Regions from separate parts of the Homo sapiens genome. Here all the other regions are linked to region 1. Evidence: promoter capture Hi-C in human tissues and cell types (Jung and others, 2019). All regions are on one chromosome and are shown on one strand. The core of a region is centred on a gene start or on the middle of the fragment in contact, and the rest is flanking DNA. Distances in the headings are between cores, read along the strand shown. Region 1 holds the start of CALCOCO1 (calcium binding and coiled-coil domain 1). Region 2 overlaps ATF7-NPFF (ATF7-NPFF readthrough). Region 3 overlaps ATF7-NPFF (ATF7-NPFF readthrough). Region 4 overlaps PCBP2 (poly(rC) binding protein 2). Region 5 overlaps ATF7-NPFF (ATF7-NPFF readthrough).

What was found. The method cuts DNA at HindIII sites, captures the fragments that hold promoters and counts their contacts. A contact is called where the count stands out against the background at its distance.
Region 2: a fragment that was not itself captured here is called in contact with the fragment with the promoter of CALCOCO1 in region 1 in 3 of the 25 tissues and cell types used here (IMR-90 fibroblasts, dorsolateral prefrontal cortex and lymphoblastoid cells).
Region 3: a contact is called between a fragment that was not itself captured here and the fragment with the promoter of CALCOCO1 in region 1, in 1 of the 25 tissues and cell types used here (IMR-90 fibroblasts).
Region 4: a fragment that was not itself captured here is called in contact with the fragment with the promoter of CALCOCO1 in region 1 in 2 of the 25 tissues and cell types used here (adrenal gland and dorsolateral prefrontal cortex).
Region 5: a fragment that was not itself captured here is called in contact with the fragment with the promoter of CALCOCO1 in region 1 in 2 of the 25 tissues and cell types used here (liver and mesenchymal stem cells).

What each region holds. Positions count from the first base shown.
Region 1 is chr12:53,726,109-53,728,808 of GRCh38, forward strand. CALCOCO1 (calcium binding and coiled-coil domain 1) reads right to left here and starts at 1,344. Exons shown (of 15, transcript NM_020898.3): 1 at 1,296-1,344. It overlaps LOC105369774 (a long non-coding RNA gene), which reads left to right and starts at 471. Exons shown (of 3, transcript XR_944973.3): 1 at 471-541. RefSeq lists enhancers at 1-119, 1,437-1,496. The HindIII fragment of the contact is 5,999 bases long and covers 1-2,700 here.
Region 2 is chr12:53,562,523-53,565,222 of GRCh38, forward strand. The region is part of intron 2 of ATF7-NPFF (ATF7-NPFF readthrough); the gene reads right to left. All of the region lies in intron 2 of ATF7 (activating transcription factor 7), which reads right to left. All of the region lies in intron 2 of LOC124902937 (a long non-coding RNA gene), which reads left to right. Among named protein-coding and RNA genes, the nearest start is that of ATF7-AS1, 50 kb to the left of the region's middle. The HindIII fragment of the contact is 4,567 bases long and covers 1-2,700 here.
Region 3 is chr12:53,516,795-53,519,494 of GRCh38, forward strand. ATF7-NPFF (ATF7-NPFF readthrough) reads right to left here. Exons shown (of 15, transcript NR_159377.1): 12 at 221-560. ATF7 (activating transcription factor 7) reads right to left here. Exons shown (of 12, transcript NM_006856.3): 12 at 1-560. The coding sequence ends at 343. ATF7-AS1 (ATF7 antisense RNA 1) reads left to right here. Exons shown (of 3, transcript NR_046221.1): 3 at 1-814. Among named protein-coding and RNA genes, the nearest start is that of ATF7-AS1, 4.2 kb to the left of the region's middle. RefSeq lists an enhancer at 295-794. The HindIII fragment of the contact is 5,161 bases long and covers 1-2,700 here.
Region 4 is chr12:53,474,699-53,477,398 of GRCh38, forward strand. All of the region lies in intron 14 of PCBP2 (poly(rC) binding protein 2), which reads left to right. Among named protein-coding and RNA genes, the nearest start is that of PCBP2-OT1, 12 kb to the left of the region's middle. The HindIII fragment of the contact is 4,559 bases long and covers 1-2,700 here.
Region 5 is chr12:53,583,286-53,585,985 of GRCh38, forward strand. The region is part of intron 2 of ATF7-NPFF (ATF7-NPFF readthrough); the gene reads right to left. The region is part of intron 2 of ATF7 (activating transcription factor 7); the gene reads right to left. It overlaps LOC124902937 (a long non-coding RNA gene), which reads left to right. Exons shown (of 3, transcript XR_007063316.1): 3 at 2,474-2,700. Among named protein-coding and RNA genes, the nearest start is that of ATF7, 42 kb to the right of the region's middle. The HindIII fragment of the contact is 4,179 bases long and covers 1-2,700 here.

The sequences.
Region 1 (2,700 bases), core at 94-2,593:
CAGACTAGAAAGTGGGAAGTAAGGGGCCCCAAGAAGTGGAAATGTATATTTAACGTTGAGGAAAGGGGAGATAGTTCAAAAAGAACCTAACATTCTTCTCTCCAGACTGTGCCTGCAGCAGGACTAGAAACCTACTGGTTTCACTTTAGTATTTCTCTCCTCATTTTCTCTCTGCTCCCCTCAGCCTCCATCCTTCCATCTGTTTGTATTGGTAGCTGGAGACACACTACAGGATGGGGTTGAGAGGAAGGGGTGTTCCAAGTTAGCTGGGGAGAGTTAATTGGAAAATATGAGGGTGGGGTGAGGACAGATAACAATAATAACGATCAAAAGAACTCCTCAGTCCAGGGCTGTGAGATGGCCCTCTTATTCATCACTCCTTTCCAGCCCACTAATCTATTTCCTGTGTCACTCACAGCTGACATGTCCAACCAGCCATTGTCACTAGTCATATGCACGCCCCCAAACATCACAAACCCACACCAGGCTGAAGTCCAGGGGACAGGAACTTTAAAAGAAAACAGAAACTCAGTGGATAAAGGTGAGCCAGCAACACAAAAAGGAGCAACTTCTGTCCCCCAAATAGGTAGAACAAAAAGTTTTTTTTAATGTTCATCTCCCTGAAAAATTCCTGGTTGAAACTAATCCATGTTTTCTCCAAATGCAATTCTTCCAGCTTTCTAAGGGTGGGGGTAAATTGTCCCCAAAGATATACCTGGAGAACCCTAAAATACACCCCACAAAGAAAATCCGTAACAGCTGTAAACGTTCTTCATGTCCGAAAGAAAGTTTTGGGCACCTAAGATGTAGGTGTGTAGCCTGATTCAGATGTTCACATGATGGGGCGGAGAGCGGGTGTCCCATCCCCTACTCTGTAGGGCTCTAGAGTTCCTTGACATTCTACACCTTGGAAGGTCCCCCTTCCTCCCCAGGGATTCAGCGTCGTAAAGGCCTTTGGATTTGCGTAGGGGAGAGAGGGAAGACGTGTAGGGGACACGTCTTGCCTGGGAGCGAATAAGCAGATTTCAGCTCCCTTGAAGGGATCAGCTTTATAGAGACGCATTGAGAAGAAGGAGAGGACGACGAGGGGGCGCCCCCCACCCCCAATCAGAGTCCCCTTGAAACCAAGAACTCCCCAAACAGCGGGGGTGGCTTCTCCAGTACGGAAAGGGTTACAACCCAAACGCTCCTGTATTCCCCTTCGACAGTTCCCTTACGTTATCCTTCCCCAAACTGGAAAGTGGGGTGACCCTCCCCTCCCATAAGATCGCCCCCAATTAGGCCAAGTTTCTTACCCAACAGACGGATCAGCTGTTCCCCTCACCTTTCACCAACAACAAAAACAGCACTCCGACTTCTGGAGGGGAGGGAGAAGAGTGGGCGCGAGGGCTTCTGGGGTTTGTGGTTCTTCTGCGCCCTTTTGCCGCTGCGTGCTCGGATCTAGGACTATACATCCCAGAAGGCTGCGCGCAAGGAGGGCGGGGAAGAGGGCGTCCGTGACGGCGGCCTCACCGCGGCATCCTGGGAGGCGTAGTTCTCACTCCTATGACAGAAAACGAGGGTGTGGCCAGCAAAGGACTTCAAGGCCCATGATCCCTTAGGAGGGGGCCGGCTGCATTAGGGGTGGCTGCTGGTTTGTAACGTGCGTTGTTGGGGGCTGGGGAGGATTTACGGCTCTAAAGCCTTCCATATAACGCTTTAACGGTGGGCAGAGCGGTTTCTGTTGCGTCCCGTCCTGTACTTTTCGCACCCACCTGTGAGATAGGCGTTAAGCGTTATGCACGCTTTATAGATGTAGAAAGTGAAGTACGGTTAAGGAGGCGGTGTGAAGTGTCAAAGCTATGAAATGTAGAACTGCATTAGCCTTGGCTAATTCCACGTCATATATTCTTGCCACTACACCACAGCTACCCACCATTTTGGGGATGGGAAACTGATAGCTGGGGTATAGCAGTTTCTTCTTTACTTCAATCTCAGGGACAGACCTTGTAAGAATGATGTCTTCTGCACAGCTGACCATTTTTTTCCAACTTGAGGATTTCAGTGCTAAGGGGCCTGACCATATCCACATCTGGACTGGGCTCCCCCAGAGTGGCTTCTGGGTCTAGGAAGAGGATACAATTGACTGAGGTGGTGGTAGGAGCGGTGGAATGAGAAGAATGAAATTGAAAAGGGAGCTTGGCATAATTCAGGACCTGTCACAATTCACAAACAAGCCACTTATGGGGCCTGTTTGCCCAAGCCTTTTAAGTGGCTTAAATTAATTAGGATAACAATACATGTTGACGTTCCGGTTTTTATTTAGGAGAGGTGAAAGATTGACACGTCTCCCACACCCCAAGTCACGTTATAGACTTGGGCATCCTGTCCCCCCTCTCGCTATTCTCCATCCCTGTAGTCGGAGGCATTCAGAATTACCTCTTTCTCTGGCTCTGCATTAAAGGATTACAGTCTTAAGGATTGATTTCCTCTTCCTAGGTGCCTGCTTTAATTCTCTACTGCACTAAGTTATGGAGCTTCTGCCTTTTCCAAGTTTTTTGGTAGTGTTTTGCTTTTATGACTGAATGCGGTGTCTGCCCTCAGTGTCTTTCATCTGAAGATCTCCAGGCACTTAAAAATTAGTTACTGGGCTGCACAAACATTAAGGTGATGTGTCTGTGTCATTAGTCAGGATTTATGAGTTAGGGAACCAGTTTCTGG
Region 2 (2,700 bases), core at 23-2,522, 160 kb before region 1:
ATCCCAGCTACTCGGGAGGCTGAGGCAGGAGAATCACTTGAACCCAGAAGGCCGGTGAGCCGAGATTGTGCCACTGCACTCCAGCCTGGGGGACAAGAGCGAAACTTCATCTCAAAAAAAAAAAAATTTTTTTTTGCCCATGTGTGCAATGGTGGGACAATTTTCATCATCCATATCCAAAAGGAGAGTTGGTATCTATCTTAAACACCAGCTTTTTCCTACGGAACCAGAGGCTGGGCCCAGTCAGGACCAAGAATACCCTAATGCAAGGATGCAAGAAGATCAGAGTAAGAAACAAATAGAATTTCAAAAATTGTAACCACAGGAAAAAGACAAAATGGCAGCAATGGGGATTTAAATCATTAGGAAGGATTTGACTCTTGGGGGTGGGGTGGGTTTGAAATCATTCCCAAAGGAGATTTTAAAGGAATGTAAAATACATTACCTTTCTGTCCTCTTGTCCTTGTTTATGATTTTATTTTCTGCTATTCTTCTACTAACACTTTCTACCCAGGTCAGTCTCTTACTGATCTGCGAAGTCTATTTATTTTCAATTTTGTGCCTCCACACACATTCCCATATTCCTTGAAATGTGTTCCTCTCTCCATTGTTTACTGGAATACTACCATTTTTCTAGGCCCAGCTGAAATCCAATAGCTTTTTGAAAGCTTCTCTAATGACTCCAATCTTCAGTGATCTATCTTTCTTGAACTTGTATAGTATTCAAATGGAAATTTATTTATATAATTATACATATAGAATTTTAGTCTATATGGTCTCACAATTTTTATCTTTTTAAAGTAGACTGTATGGGCAGGCGCAGTGGCTCACACCTGTAATCCCAGCACTCTGGGAGGCTGAGGCGGGAGAATTGCTTGACCCCAAGAGTTTGAGACCAGTCTGGGCAACAAGGTGAAACCCCACCTCTACCGAAAAGAAAAAAAAAAAATTAGCCAGGTGTGGTGGTGTGTGCCTGTAGTCCCAACTAGGAAGGCTGAGGTGGGAGGGATCACTTGAACTGGAGGCAGAGGTTGCAGTGAGCCAAGATTGTGCCATCGCACTCCAGCCTGGGCAACAGAACAAGGATGTCTCAAACAAAGTAGACTGTAAACTACTAGAGGGTTAAAAACATGTCTCACACTTATTTTTTATCCTTTTCACCTGCCCCACCTCTGGGCTTGCCCAGTTTGGCACTCAATAAATTATTGCTTCAGTGATTGGGTAAAGTTTTATATAGTGACATAAGAGTAACTGTTGAAAAGCTTTATCACTCTTGGATTCTCAGACCTTAACATGGCACACTTTCAGAAAGATCTGATGGCTTTCCAACTCCATTTGCAAAGTAAATTTCACTGTTCAAATCAGTGAGAATTAGTGTATCCTCTTGCCTACTTTTTTTGATACCAGATTCCCTTTATTACAGAAAGGCACCTAAGACAATTACAGTATGCTAGAGTTATACTGCTGTTGTATGAAAGGACACTGGTGCCATGGTCTTTGTGGGTCAATTCACTTTCTTAGGGTATCTGATTCCAGCACTGAATTTTATTACCAATTAAAATGTCCTGTGAGGCCAGATACAGTGGCTTATGCCTGTAATCCAGCACTTTGGGAGGCTGAGGTGGGCAGATCACTTGAGGCTAGGCGTTTGAGACCAGCCTGGCCAACATGGCAAAACCCTGTCTCTACTAAAAATATAAAAATTAGCTGGACATGGTGGTGCATGCCTGATAATCCCAGTTACTTGGGTGGCTGAGGCACAAGAATCACCTGAACCCAGGAAGTGGAGGGTGCAGTGAGCTGAGATCACACAACTGCATTCCAGCCTGGGCGACAGAGCAAGACTCTGTTTCAAAATATAAACTAAACTCAACTAAAATACCTTGTGCAAAAAAATGTGAATTTACAAGCCATTCCCTTTTAAGTTCCTTCTTCAATCCCCAAACCACTAGTGGTAATTTTAACCACATCCTTTTGAGCATTTTCTTTTAAGATCTCAATTATTTGAATTTTACAGGCAGAATATGAGCATATGAGCATCTCATAGGTGTCAAACAGTGTCAAGAACTGGATTCCTCCTTTAAAAAATCGTACACTCCAGTATCTGACAAAAGGAAAAGTATGTTACAATTAAATCAACAAGCTAGTTAGAGGGGAACAGAAAAAGAATTTTAAACCCATAGTCAACACTGAGTTGTTGGGTCTTCATCGTTATGATCTGGGTTTAATAGCAATGCATTATTATTCTACATCAAACTTGTCCAACCTTTGGCCTGCAGACCACATGCAGCCCGGAATGGCTTTCAACATGGCCCAACATAAATTCGTAAGCTTTCTTAAAACATTATCAGATTTTTTGGCGATTTTTTTTTTGTTTAGTTCATCAGCTATTGTTGGCGTTAGTATATTTTTATGTGTGGCCCAAGACAATTCTTCTTCCAATGTGGCCCAGGGAAGCCAAAAGATTGTACACCTCTGTTTTACATTATACAGACCAATGGTATAACTATTCCTCTAAGTACCTAAGTTTTAAGCCCTCAGCCATACTGCAATACTTGCTTCTATTTTGGTTCCTTGTTCCTTCCTCCTGACAAATGTGAAAATTCATGAGCCCCATGGGTCAAGTCTTCTGCCAAGTAAGTTGCAGGTGCCCAATAAATCACAGCAAAAAGGAAACTGAGCTCCAAAGGTCATTTAGGC
Region 3 (2,700 bases), core at 83-2,582, 210 kb before region 1:
ACCTAGAAGTGCCAAGGGTTAGTGTTAAAAGAGACAGATACACGTGCATGGGGCAGGGGTGATTGTTCGGACCATCTGGAAAGGCCTTTGGCTGTGGATGCATCAGAAACCCCACCCTGGGGGATGATCTATGAGGCTCCGGGGCTGGGAGGCCCCCAGCACAGGTGTCAAACGTACATGACCACATGGCTAAAAAGCCCCATATCTGTCCATTACTCACAACACACAATTCCCCCCACCCATATTGCCATGTCCAAGGCAGATGGGAGGGGATAAGATGACATCTCTCTTGGCTCTTGGGCGGGCGAGCTCTGGCTGAGGACCTCTCCACCAGAGGAGGCATCATCTGCCCGCAGACTGGGACTGTGGGGTCATGATTACATGCGATTGTATCGGCATGCTCAGTTCTGTCCTTTGGCTGGCCATCTGAGTGAGGACCGAGGTGGCCACAGCTTCAGCTGCAGAGCGAACACTGAGGCCATTGCTAGGGGCTGTTGCTGAGCTGTGCTGAATCACAGGGGCTGGAGAACCCGTTGGCTCTGAGCTTTCCTTGGGGCTTTCTGCCAGGAAGGAGGGCAAAGAGCAGAGAGCAATTGGTTAGAAAACAGAATGGGGAAAGAGGCAGGACTACCTTTTGCCATAATTCTAAAGGAGCCCAAAAGGGAAATGAAACCCATCTTTTTTTTGGGGAAAACTTCCCAGAATCCTGGCTTCTAAGTCATAAATGGGCTAGGAAATGGGAAGTTGTAAGAAGGGAAGAACTAGGCCAAAATTAACCTATCTATTCCAATAAAATGAATCTCCAACATGTTAATTACACTGTCTGGTTTCTAGGTCTTTGCATAGTTCATTACCAACTCTTATTATTATTCATTACTTCTATTCTTTCTTGTTTTTAAGAGATAGGGTCTCAAGTGATCCTCCTGCCTTGGCCTCTCAAAGTGCTGGGATTATAGGCATGAGCCACTGCGCCTGGCCTTCATTTCTTTAAAGATGATTTAAAATAGATCTCTTTTTAGCCATCCTCTTTGATTAATTCTCACAGGAACTGAATTATTCCATTATTTTATTTATTTATTTTTTTTCCTAAGACTGAGTCTTGCTCTGTTGCCCAGGCTGGAGTGCAGTGGTGCAATCTCAGCTCATTGCAACCTCTGCCATCCAGGTTCAAGTGATTCTCGTGCCTCAGCCTTCCGAGTAGCTGGGACTACAGGTGCACACTGCCACACCTGGCTAATTTTTGAATTTTTAGTAGAGATGGGGTTTTGCCACGTTAGCTAGGCTGGTCTCAAACTCCTGACCTCAAGTGATTGGCCTGCCTTGGCCTCCCAAAGTGCTGGGATTATAGGCGTGAGCCACTGTGGCAGGCCTATTCCATTATTTTTAATGTTCCTTTACCATGTAGTTGTACCACAGGTAAGTCTGATAGATATCAAGCTATAATTAAATGATATTATGAATGGCCAGTCCCTGGCCCGGGTTCAGTTAACATGTAAAACTACAAAGAAATCTTAAGACCCTCCTGACTAAAAATTAGCTAGGCATTAATGATTATAAAACATTATAAGTTATGCCACTCCACCTAAAGTGACACTAACATTTTACTACTAAACACAACTACCTGAGCTACATACAATGGTAACTCCATGTTGCTCATTAGTCAAATGTTTTTAAAATTTTTTTAGAGGGTCTCACTCTGTCACCCAGGCTGGAGGTGCCATGGCACAATCACAGCTCACAGCAGCCTTCAACTGCTGGCCTCAAGCCATCCTCCTGCTTCAGACTCCCAAATTGCCGGGATTACAGGTATGAGTCATCACACTCAGCAAGTCAAGGAGTTTTATTAAACATCGGATAGCCTCTATGGCTGCTTAAACAGAAATATGTGGAAAAAAGGCAAACGTTCCATAGTCAGTTGTATTTCTGACATCCTGATGAATGCCTGAGTCTTCTTTTAAGATTCAAATATGGCCGGGCGCAGTGGCTCACGCCTGTAATCCCAGCACTTTCAGAGGCCAAGCTGGGCGGATCAGGAGGTCAGGAGATCGAGACTACCCTGGCTAACATGGTGAAACCCCGTCTCTACTCAAAAAAAAAAAAAACCAAAAAATTAGCTGGGCATGGTGGCGGGCGCCTGTTGTCCCAGCTACTTGGGAGACTGAGGCAGGAGAATGGTGTGAACCCGGGAGGCAGAGCTTGCAGTGAGCCGAGATTGTGCCACTGCACTCCAGCCTGGGCAACAGAGCGAGACTCCGTCTCAAAAAAAAAAAAAAAAAGATTCAAATATTGCGTCCTCTGTGAAGCCATCTTTGTTACCCTCAGTACATTAACTGTTTTATTCTTTGTGTTTTCACAGCATATATTCATCAAACATTTTACTGAGCATCATCCATGTACCAGGCATGGGTACACAGAGAAGAAAACGGGAACCCTATCCTTAGGAAGCTCCCAGTTTAGGGGCTTTTTAACTGGGATATCTATCCTTACCTCATCCACAGGTTTATATGACCCTATGATTCTCTCAGAGGTAGTGACAGTGTCTTATTCATCATGTGTCAGGTACTTACATAATATCTATACCACACAGCAGGAACTAAATACATCTTTGCTATAATGAATATGTAAGGCCGGGTGCGGTGGCTCACACCTGTAATCCTAGCACTTTGGGAGACAGAGGTGGGCAGATCACATGAAGCCAAG
Region 4 (2,700 bases), core at 28-2,527, 250 kb before region 1:
GGACATAGGCTAAAAGAAAGCTTGTCACAAGTTGACACTAGGTCTTCCTAATTGTCAACCAGAGGCACTTACTGATATAACTGAAGCAGTTTTTGTCCTGTACTTACTCCCTTTTGTGGTCTTCCCTTCCACCCACCCTTTTTTTTTGTTCCTTTTTTCCTCTGTTACAGTTTAGAAAACGCTAAACCCTCCTCCCAGGCAGCCTCCGTCACGATCCCTGATCACCTCAGCATCAACCTCTCTCAACCCTCCACCCCTTCTTCTTCTTCCTCCTCCACCACCACCCCCTCGCTCGCCACAGCGGGGACCTCCGACGCACCCTCCAGCCTCCCCAACCCTCTTCCGACCGCCCCTTGTGTCTCCAGTCTGCTTGGCATGAAACCCATCCCTCTCCTGGCTCTAAATGTTGTGTCTGCTGCTAAGGGTACCGGGGCTTCAGCTACCACCACCACCACCTCTGCCGTGCCATGTGTAACTAACAAACTGAAAGGCGAGAAACAGAGATTCTCTCCCTACTGATTGCATACCTTGAGGCACCTCCTCCAGTATTATTTTGTTCATTTTGTTTTCCTTTGTTAACATTGGTGAGAATGAAACTATTGTGAGCTTGTTACCGTTTCCTTTTTACTACTTTGGGGGATAACTGGGTGGGGGTGGGGGAGTGGTAACCCTTGTTTAGGTTTAGGCCATTTCAGCTGAGTGCCTGTTTCAGGGTCTGACTTGAATTCTTTATCTAGAGCCACAGTTTTCTCTTCTTTCTTGTTTGTTACTTTTCTTTGTAGCTTTATTCTGCCTTGCAATATAACAATGTGTTAGGCTCTGTGTTAATGAATAAAAGCTGCTTCGTTAACTTTTTTTTTTTTTTTTAAGAATTATTTAATGGTTAAGCTATCAGCAGGCCTTCTTGGCCATATTTGTGTTTCTAGCTGTAATAAAGTTGGCGCAGTAAGAACCTTAGTACACTGTGTGCTGTGAAGGGTAAAGGGTTGGGGGCTTGTGACTTGTGGCTATTCAGCTAGGAAGCCTGTATAACTGACATGGGCTTTTTGAATCCCAAGTGAATTTTATAGTCGTTTGTCAATATTTCCACAAAGAGATAACGAGTCTGTGGCAGTTTAGATCCTGAAGGTCCTCTGTAATTGGCAACAAGCTTCACTAGTGAGGAAGTTTATCTGACTTCTCAGATGGCCTTACCTTGCCAGCAGCAGCTAACAAGGTGTTCATCCCAGGATTCCTCTGGTGAATGGTTACCATGAGGATCTCTTCCAAGTCATACATTCAAAGAACATACTTCTTTACCCAGAATGAAGGGGAGGGGCAAAGTGGGATAAGTCTAATAAAATTAGGCAGCTTCTGTCTGCATTCCTCTGAATTAGCATTATGCCTCTTTCTGTGACATTAGGTATATCTCAGCCAACCCGTGACATTATCCACAACTTGACATGATGCCATCCACTAGTCCTAAACCAACTCTGTCAACCAAGTTTCTTTACCCTTTTTTCTATTCCTGGCCGTATCCTTTCTGCTCCCCACCAGCACTATCAGGAGTAGGAAGTGACATGCTTAGATTTGGAAGGAACCTTAAGGATCAACTAATCTGTAACACATTGATCCCCTCATTTTACAGATTAAAAAATAGAGGCCCTAAGATAATTTAAATTCATAGGTTATGAGTGACTAGCCAGGACTAACAACTTAAGCTTTACTTTTACTCAATCGTACTAACCTCCCTGAAATCTTGTTCATTTTCTTATACTAAGATGGGCACAGGCCTCTCATAAAACAGTAGAAATGTTCTTAGTATGGTGGTATAAGGCCTCTGATAGCCTTCCATTCAACGAGAGTACACGTTGCCACAGTGCTGAAAGTGTAATGCTCTTCCCAGGGCATTAGAGAACTCAGTGTAGAGATAGTTTCCCTGATGACCTTTTCCCAGCATCACCATTGGCTGACAAAAAAAAAAAAGCTGTTAGTATTCCAATATATTATCTCATTCTTTGATGTTATTTTGGCCCCTCCATCCCAGATTGGGCCTGTGAAGAAGTGTTACACGTCTCAAGTATGCATAAAGGATTAGATGGCCAAACCTGTCCAGTAAGGAGTTTTATTTAGTTGCTCCTTTATCATGTGGTCCAGCTCTCTCCCTTGGTAAGCTTGCTCCTCCTGTAGTTAGGACTTAATCATGCTGATACCATCTCCCCCCAGGGATGTGGTTTTATCTAGTTCTTGATTGGAAGGCCTCTTAACCTAATGGCTATTCCCCAAGGAAGGATTCCACATGTTTAAGGGTCTAGCTACCATCACTACCTCCAAAGGGCCTCAGTTTTAAATTTTTTTAAACCCTAGAGCTCCCCCATGTGGTCTTTTATCCTAGAGTACCTGACTCAGTATTTCATAGCATCCCCTTCTCCCTGCGTCACCTCCCCCACCCCAGCAAATCCCCATTCGGGCTTGATACACATTCAGAACATTTCTTTCAGAGCTCTGGTGGGGCCAGAGTGCTACCACCAATTTTTATGAACTTAAATTTTCAGGTCCTAGATCTAATGGTATCTAGCAGTTCCTTTCTTAGACCTTCAGTTCTTACTGAACCCTTTAATCCAGGGCTATTGTTTACCTTTCCTTAGATCATTGTGTTTTGAAATTGGCACGAATCTACCCCCCTTTTAAGAACTAAATATCCCCTGCCGGGCACGGTGG
Region 5 (2,700 bases), core at 35-2,534, 140 kb before region 1:
ATTCTCAAAGGAGTCCCAACCCTACTGTGAACTGTGTATGTGAGGGATCTAGGTTGTATGCCCCTTATGAGAATCTAATGCCTGATGATCTGTCACTATCTCCCATCACCCCCAGATGGGACCATCTAGTTGCAGGAAAACAAGCTCAGGGCTCCCACTGATTCTACATTATGGTGAGTTGTATAATTATTTCACTATTATATTATAATTTAATAATACTATAAATAAAGTACACAATAAATGTAATTTGCTTGAATCCCCCCCACCCCCAGTCCATGAAAAAAATTCTTCCAGGAAACCAGTCCCTGGTGTCAAAAAGGTGGGGGACCACTGACCTAGATGACTTTTGTATGGCGATGACTTTTTAAATACAACACCAAAGTCATGATCCATGAACTAAGTAATTGATAAGCTGGACTGTGCTAAAATTAGAAATATCTGCTCTGTGAAAGACAATGTCAAGAAAATGTAAAGACAAGCTACAGAATGGGAGAGAATGTAAAAGATACACCTGATAAAGGACTGTCATACAAAATACACAAAGAACTCTTAAAACTGAACAGTAAGAAAATGAACAACCTGATTAAAAAATGGGCAACGGACTTTAGTCAGACACTTCACCAAAGAAAAATACAGATGGCAAATAAGCATGCTCAACATCATGCCATCAGGGAAATACAAATACAGATAATTGTTATTAGTATTATTTTTTGAGACAGACTCTCACTCTGTCACCCAGGCTGGAGTACAGTGGCGTGATCTTGGCTCACTGCAACCTCCGCCTCCCAAGTTCAAGCGATTCTCCTGGCTTCAGCCTCCTGAGTAGCTGGGACTACAGGCACTTGCCACCACGCCCAGCTAATTTTTGTATTTTTAGGAGAGACGGGGGTTTCATCATATTGGCCAGGCTCTTCTCGAACTCCTGACCTCAGGTGATCCACCCGCCTTGGCCTTCCAAAATGCAGGGATTACAGGTGTGAGCCACCCGGCAGGCATTAAATTGTTGTTTAATGCAAATTAAAACAACAAAATCCATTACACACCTATTAGAGTGGCCAAAATCCAAAACACTGACAACATTAAATGTTGATAAGGATGTGGAGCAACAAGAACTCTCATTCATTTTTGGTGGGAATGCTAAATAATATAGCCACTTTGGAAGACAGTTTGACAGTTTCTTACAAAACTAAACATAGTCTTACCATAAACATAGTATTACCATATGATCCAGTGATCACACTCATTGATATTTACCCAAATGAACAGAAAACTTATGTCCACACAAAAGCCTGCACATGGATATTTATATAGCAGCTTTCTTTACTCATAATTGCCAAATCTCGGAAGCAATGAAGATGTCCTTCAGCAGGTGAATGGATAAATTGTGGTACATTCAGACAATGGAATATTACTCAGCACTAAAAAGAAATAAGGTATCAAGCCATGAAAAGATAAGGAAGAAACTTAAATGCATATTACTAAATGAAAGAAGCTAGTATGAAACGGCCTTATATTGTATGATTCCAACTAAACAACATTCTGTAGACGGCAAAACTACGGAGACAGTAGTTTTGGCAAGATCAGTGCTTGCCAGCGGTCAGTGGGAAGTGAGGGATGAACAGGCAGAGCACAGAGGATATTTAGGACAGTGAAACTATTCTGTATGATACTACAATGGTGGATACGTGTCATTTTATATATTGATTTGACAGGAGTTCACTCTGTTGCCCAGGCTGGTGTGCAGTGGCACAATCATGGCTCACTGCAGCCTTGACCTCCCGGGCTCAAGCAGTCCTCCCACCTCAGCCTCCTGAATAGCTGGGACTACAGGTGCACATTACCACACCTGGCTAATTTTTAATTTTTTTTTTGTAAGGATGGGGTCTCACTATGTTGCCTAGGCTGGTCTTGAACTCCTGGGCTCCAGCAATCCTCCTGCCTCGGCTTCCCAAAGTGTTGAGATTACAGGCATGAACCACTGTGCCCGGCCTCATTATATATTTGTTAAAACCTACAGAATTTGTAATACCAAGAGTGAATTCTAATATAAACTATGGACTTGGGTGATAATATGTCAATGCAGGTTCATTGAATGTAACAAATTAGCATTGTGGTTCAGTATGTTGACAGTGGGGGAGGCTAGTGTGTGTGAGGACAGGAGGTATATGAGAATCCTCTGCACTTTTCACTCAATTTTGCTGTGAATCTAAAACTGCTCTAAAAAAAATAGTTTCTTAATTTAAAAAAAAGCAAAGGAAGAGCATAAATGAAAAAAGAAAAGACTGAAAACCACTAAGTAAATGTGAATAGCTTCTTGCATATTCATTCTCATACAGTGCTCAGAAAAGACAGAAAACCAAAGCATAGCAGAAAGTCCAGCTTCCAAGCAGGAACTGGTGTCTCCTTGACAGAGCTTCAATCCAATTATGCCCCAGACACTGATTTTTCTATCACTACCTCCCCTTTGTTTCAGAGACAGTATCCATGACCTTCTGTTCATGCGGTGGAGGAAGAAATTGCTTCCCAGAAAGGCTTAGCCCACTCCATTCTACTAGATAAAGGAAAAACAAAAAGCCACTCCACTCTGACAAGCCGATTACTGTCTATGGAGAAGCAAAATGCCTCCCTTAGGACTATGGGAATAGCCAACAAGGTACAGTATGTTCAAACCTTTAACCATGACTCTGCCAAGAGCAGCTA